Regions from separate parts of the Homo sapiens genome. Here region 1 is linked to region 2. Evidence: promoter capture Hi-C in 16 types of primary human blood cells and fetal thymus (Javierre and others, 2016). All regions are on one chromosome and are shown on one strand. The core of a region is centred on a gene start or on the middle of the fragment in contact, and the rest is flanking DNA. Distances in the headings are between cores, read along the strand shown. Region 1 has its middle 150 kb from the start of FOXN3-AS2. Region 2 holds the start of FOXN3 (forkhead box N3).

Region 1 (3,010 bases), core at 479-2,978, 310 kb before region 2:
AGTCCCAGTATGAATCCTGGGATTGAGTCTTACGGGCCTGTCCTGGGCCAATTAACATCCCTAAGCCAGGCCCCTGTGGTCAAGTGGAAGGAACCGTTGAGGTGACCCGGCCTGTACCAGGTGTCTGTCTTCATGCCCGGGGTTGGAGGAGGGGTTCAACTCCACTCAAACTATATGACCCGAGAATGTGGAAAGGGAAATCTAGATGCTGTTCCCTCGCCTCAGTTTGAAGGACAGAACACATACAAGGGAGACAAAAATGACAGACATTCCCTGTCACTGCCAGGAGAGCCGTCCATGGTAGACACTGGATATTATCTGATCTCAAAGTTGCAGGTAATCTATGTCACTGAATTGGATGACCAGTAGCCTGGTTTTGTTTGTTTAACAGCTTTGAATTCATGACTCAAGAAGCTGAGCCATTGCTGTTACATTTCTGAAGTGCAGCCATACGTTGACTTTTATTTTGATATTCATTTTATTCATTCAAAAAATATTAATGGAGCACTAATTATGTGTAAGGATCTTGAAATACACAGGTGAGTCAGTGTCGTGACCCTAGCTTACATTCCAGCAAGGGGCTTAATGCCCAGTGCCATTCAGTATAGATTTCCTTGACTATGTAAATTGCATGAAGCTTTTGAATATAATGGTGGATTTTCCTATAACACCATGGATAGAATTTCACATAGAAGCAGGTAGTCACTACATATTTGCTGATTTATTACACAATAGTAAAGATTCATCCTTCAGTATCATTCTTTTTCTCTATTGTTTATGTGCTCCTAGATCATTCAGATCATGAGTGATGGAAACTACCAGCTATATTTCCAAGAACAGTGATGCAACGCTATTCCTTATAGATGTTGGAAATGGAATTATTTGCTATGGGAACCCCATGTCTATTCATCATTTGCATAGTGTTAAACATGTGTGGGAATGGGAAGTCTCACAACTGCCTTTCTTCCCTTTATTTTTGCTACCTTTGATCTGGAATTTTAATCTTATTTGGTTAAATTATTTCTAGTGAGGTGTTCAAAGACTTTCAAGTATCTCTGCCTTTTGAACATTAGCTTCTTTGTGGTGTGTTTTTTCCTAATTATTCCAAATATAGTTTAATGACCATGAAAGCAGCAAAAAAATATACATATATGTTCTTGAATTTGATTTCATATTCACAGCTTCCTCTCAGTGCCTCTCTAGTTATTAGGTCTATTTCAATGTCATTTACAAGGTGCCTGCCAAGATTATAGTCATTTCAATACAAGTTACTATACATTTAGGGAATAAGTTGGTTCATTTGATTTAAACATGAGACCTCAGTATCTGTGTATATGCTGCTCAAAGCTCCTATTAGAGTTAGCTACAGTGCATTATTTAATATATATTTAGTAATTTGTTAATCAAATATTTATTGAATGCCTACTATGTGTCAGGTACTACTTTAGACACGGGAATACAGCAGAGAACAAGACCAAGTGCCTACTGTCAAGGAGCTTTCATTGTACACAGGGGAGAGAGACGATCATGCATAAATAAATAGGAACATATTATCATGTGCTATGAGGAGACATACGGCAGGATACAGGGTAAAGTCAGGGAAGTAGCTCTCAGGTTGAGGGGTGTATTTGTTTGTTAGAGCTGCCATAACGAAATACCAGAGACCATGTGTCTTAAATGACAGAAATTTATTCTTGCGCAGTTCTGGAGTCTAGAAGTCCGAGATCAAGGTGTCGGCAGGTTTGATTCTTTCTGAGACTCTCCTTGGTGTATAGCTGCCTTTTGTTGTGTGTTCACTTGGCCGTCTCTGTGTGTACCCACGTCTGGTGTACATCAGTGTCTGTGTTCTAACCTCCTCTTCTTAAAAGGGCACCAGTCCTATTGGATTAGGGTACACTCAAGTGAACTCAACATAATCACCTGTTTACAGACCCTGTCTCCAAATACAGTCACATCCTGAGGTAGTGGGGGCTAGGACTTCAACATAGGAATTTGGTGAGAATATAATTCAGCCCCTAGCAAGGGGGTCAGGGAAGACCCCTCTGAGGAAGGAAGACATCTGAACAGAGCTCTGAATAAGGGAACAAGTCATGGCTGTAGGTGAGTCAGTGGTGGAAGGATGCTCCCAGCAGGGGCACAGTGAGTACATGGGCTCCAGACTGGAGTCTGGGAGGCCACAGTGGCCACAGCCCAGGGAGACAGTGCAAGCATGCTACCCGTGAAGGCAGGGTCAGCCCATGAGGAACCTTGGAGGCGTGGTGAGGACCGAATTTTCTTCCAATTGTCATAGGAAGTCATTATAGTGTTTTGAGCAGGGCGGGGGACATAATCTCACACACATTTTTAAGGGATAATTTTAAAATTTATGACAGATTTTCTGTAGATTCCCGAGAATTTGGCAGGCAAGGTCATAATGATCATGAAACCCAGAAAAATTTCTTAGAATAGTTAAGATGCTCTGTTGGTTTTCTAGGAATTCTGTCCCTTGAAGATTAAGAGATCAGCTAACAATTACTTGGAATATTGTATTACTGCTCAAGTTTCTCCTGCCACGTTCAGTGATGCTGGCTTTACGACAAGAGAAATACCTGTGTTTATATACTCCTATGGAAGAATATCCTTTTCTTGAAGAATATTTTGGGTTAGAATAGTCTGGTATGTGGTAACTTATTTACAAGGAGTGATACTAAACTGACATGACTTTGGGACAACTTGGGCTAGGGCAAACTCTGAGGCATCTTTCCCACCTTTGACAAATGCCGTCTCTAGATTTACGTGAAGTAATGAGAGGGTAAGTGACAATTACTTTGGAAGCTTTCAGCAATTTGTTGCCAAAAGATAAAGGATCTCCACAAAGCAGTTCATACAGATCATTCCTAGACCCTATTCAGAATTAACCAAAGGCTTGGCATTTTTGGATAGGGTGCAGTGGCTCACACCTGTAATCCCACCATTTTGGGAGGCCGAGGTGGGTGGATCACCTGAGGTCAGGAGTTCGAGACTAGCCTGG
Region 2 (3,104 bases), core at 284-2,783:
GGAAAGCAGGGTACACATTGTCTCATCCTGGCTTTGTTACCACTTCTAACCCTGAGAATCTCTGGCGTGAGACTTCAAAGATCATCTGACTTGTCTCTGCCACCTTGTGCCTTTTGCTTAGTGACTTTGGGTAGGTCGCATCAAGTGCTCAGTAATCAAAGGGGTGGGGCTGGATGACCTCAGGCTACCCCTGGGCTTCCACCTCCTAATTGTCTCCAGATGGGGAGATGCCACACAACTTGGAAGTAGTAAGGTCTCCGGTGAGTCTGAAAGGCACATCTTTGCTGAAGACTTGTCACCTGCCCTCTTGAACCTTTGTTAGGGGGAATGACTCTCAGATTGGGGGGGGGGGGTCTATTTTTTGAGACAGAAAAAATTTTCAGAAGCCTAACTGGTGTTTCCCTTAGTCCCTCCTTTTGGCTAGGTTTAAAAGTACTGCATGCTAGAAAGCTTTCTCCAGGTCTACTCGCTGTTTTTTTCTGTAGTTTTCAGACCGCTCACGATGTCCTGTCCACTGGCTCAGGAGGGGGTGGCAGGAAGGGTGCCCTGGGCTTCTCCTCTGTAGAGGAACCAACCAATTTGGCTACCTGGGAGTAATGTGCAATCACATTTTTATTTTTGTCACCACCAGGGTGTCCTGTTGGACTCTCTCCTCTCATCCTCTCCCAAGGCGGCTGGTTGGTGTGGCTTTAGCAGTGGGTGCTATTATTTGGAGGTGCCTAGAGACTTAGAGTGGTGGCTGCACCATTTCGCTGGGTGGCTTGCGAATTGTCAGTCTGGTTCCTGAGAGCTCAAACTGAGATGGAAATGAGACCTGTTTTCTCTCTAGGCCGGCCGGGGCGTTCCGCACAACCCACTTGAGAGGCCCCACCGGCGTGGCCTTTAGGACGGTGCCTCTTGTCTTGTAATGGCCACCGGCCCTCCCTCGGGAGACACGCGGCCACCTGGGTGGGACGCTGCGGTGCTTACCTCCGGGACACGAGGTGGTCGCTGGGAGAGGGCTCGGAAGGCCCTGGGGGTCCTATCAGGACGCAGCACTGGGGAGACGTGGAATCTCCTCTTCTCACCCCCACAAGCCTCGCCCGCATCGTAATTCTTTTTATTTTTACTTTCGAGCCATGTAAGGCATGCAGATGGGGTAGGAGCGTTCCCGCGACACGTTGCCAGCAGCGCAGCGCCGGCCCGCTCGTGTGGCCGGAGCCCGGGGAGGGGACAGGGCACGCGCCGCCTGACCCACCTGCCCCACCGCCCACGGTCGCGGCCGCCCTGGGTCGCGGGACCCGCGCCGGTCACCCCCGCCCCGCGGGGCCCAAGAGGCGAGGCCGCGCGGCCCAGCCCCGGCCTCCGCCCTGGCTGAGTGCTGGGGCGCGCGAGGGGCGCGGGCAGGGTCCGCCCCGGCGGGTCAGTGCCCCGCGCCCCAGGCCGCTGGCGGCCAGGCCCACGTTTTCCCTTTCTCCGGCTCCCTCCGCCCTCCGCTCTGTCCCTCCCTCCGCCCTCCTCCCTCCCCGCGCTTCCCCTCCTCCTGCCTGGTCATGTGTCGCCTTTTTTTGTTTGCAGTGGAAACAATTTCTCGCCGCTCGGCGCGCCCCGGCCCGACGCGCCGCGGCGGAGGCGAGCGGGAGGCGGGACGGGGCGGGGAGAGCGGCGGGGCCGGCGGGAGGACGCGCGGCGCGCCCGGCGGACGCCGCAGGTCCCATGCCGCGCCGCGACCCCCGCGCCCCTGCCGCCCGCGCCCGCGGCCGCCCCCCGCCGCCCGCCGCCCCGGGCTCGCCGCGCCGCGCCCGCGCGTCCTTAGCGGGGCCACCGAGCGATGCCCGCCGGGCGCCCGCGAAAGTTTGTCGGCTCCTGCTGAAGGGCAGCGGCGCCCCCGCACCCCCGTGCCCCGCTCCGGCCAGGTGAGTTTGCACCCCGCTCCTGCCGGCTCCCGCGTGGGCTCGGGGGGCACCCGGGGCGGGAGGCGCGTCCGAGACGGTCCTGGAGACTACCTCGCCGCTCTGGGAAGACGAGGGACCCCGCAGGTCCTGGGGGGAGGGTCGGGTGTGGACCCCGGGAGCCCCCGAGCCGGGAAGTTGCCGGGTCCGAAGAGTTTCCTGCCCCGACGTGCGTGCTGCTTCCCGGTGCCTCGGTTTCCGAAAAGACGCCCGCAAGGAACAGAGTTGGTATTGTCTGCGGAGGACGGGGTCCCCGCCGTTCCGGGCCGGGGAGGGGGTTCCGATCAAGTGGAGACCCCAAGATGAGAAACAGGCTCCTAACAAAGATCACCCCCCGGCCAAACTGTGCAGACTTGGCACAGGCAACGAACGTCTCCGGAGACCCCCGAGGCCCGACCCCCCTCATCCCGGCCCTGTTTGAAACCCTCCTTGGGCCCTGGATAAGTTGGGGGACGGCGGGCTTTTATTGATTTGTTTTCGAGGCTCGCCGCGGTGCGGCCAATAAAAGGTTTATGACATCTGACCGGCAGTGAAGGTATGCGAGCTCCCAATTGCCCTGTATATGGGGATAAGAGCAGTTTCCCCCGTTGCCCGGCAACGCCGCTGATTGACGCGGGGTGCAGCCAATCGCCACTCCCGCAGGTCCCCTTGAAATGTTTTTGACAAGTACAGTAGACGAGAGTGAAGCGCGTGCGTGCGCGCGCGCGCGTGCTGGGTGGGCGGGGGTGACCCGGCCCCCCAAACTCGCTACTGCTCGGCTCTGGGAAGATTTCTTAACTTTTTAAAGTTCGCATCGAACATCTGTTCAGAGCTGGGCCAGTAATGTCTTTGTCAGTTATTTGGAGACCTTCTGTTTACTAGGCGAGAAACTAAGCTTTCTTGCCGCATTTTCTCCGTTAAAAAATAAAGAGGGTAACAAAACACAGCAAGTCATAAAAAAAACAAAAGAGGGTGTGTGTGTGTGTGTGTGTGTGTGTGTGTGTGTGTAGAGAAAAGTTGTAAGGAGGTCACCAGTGAATAACTATTTGCGTATCTGGTGGAGCAGCCTTGTTGGCAGCAGATTAAAAATGTTTGCTTAACTGCAACTCACATGATCCAGATTCTTTTTTTTTCCCTCTGAAACAGGAGGAAAAAAAGATTTGGCGAAATCTGTAGTTAGAGTATAATAATGGA

The links. The method cuts DNA at HindIII sites, captures the fragments that hold promoters and counts their contacts. A CHiCAGO score of 5 or more calls a contact.
Region 1: a fragment that was not itself captured here is called in contact with the fragment with the promoter of FOXN3 in region 2 in 5 of 17 cell types (non-activated CD4 T cells, naive CD4 T cells, activated CD4 T cells and 2 more); the score reaches 8.1 in non-activated CD4 T cells.

The regions. Positions count from the first base shown.
Region 1 is chr14:89,726,521-89,729,530 of GRCh38, reverse strand. No RefSeq gene overlaps it. Among named protein-coding and RNA genes, the nearest start is that of FOXN3-AS2, 150 kb to the right of the region's middle. The HindIII fragment of the contact is 2,177 bases long and covers 640-2,816 here.
Region 2 is chr14:89,415,662-89,418,765 of GRCh38, reverse strand. FOXN3 (forkhead box N3) reads left to right here and starts at 1,533. Exons shown (of 6, transcript NM_005197.4): 1 at 1,533-1,895. It overlaps FOXN3-AS1 (FOXN3 antisense RNA 1), which reads right to left and starts at 1,412. Exons shown (of 2, transcript NR_036500.1): 1 at 970-1,412. RefSeq lists silencers at 1,152-1,441, 1,482-1,691 and enhancers at 1,387-1,681, 1,306-1,838, 1,839-2,372, 2,387-2,681. The HindIII fragment of the contact is 2,355 bases long and covers 453-2,807 here.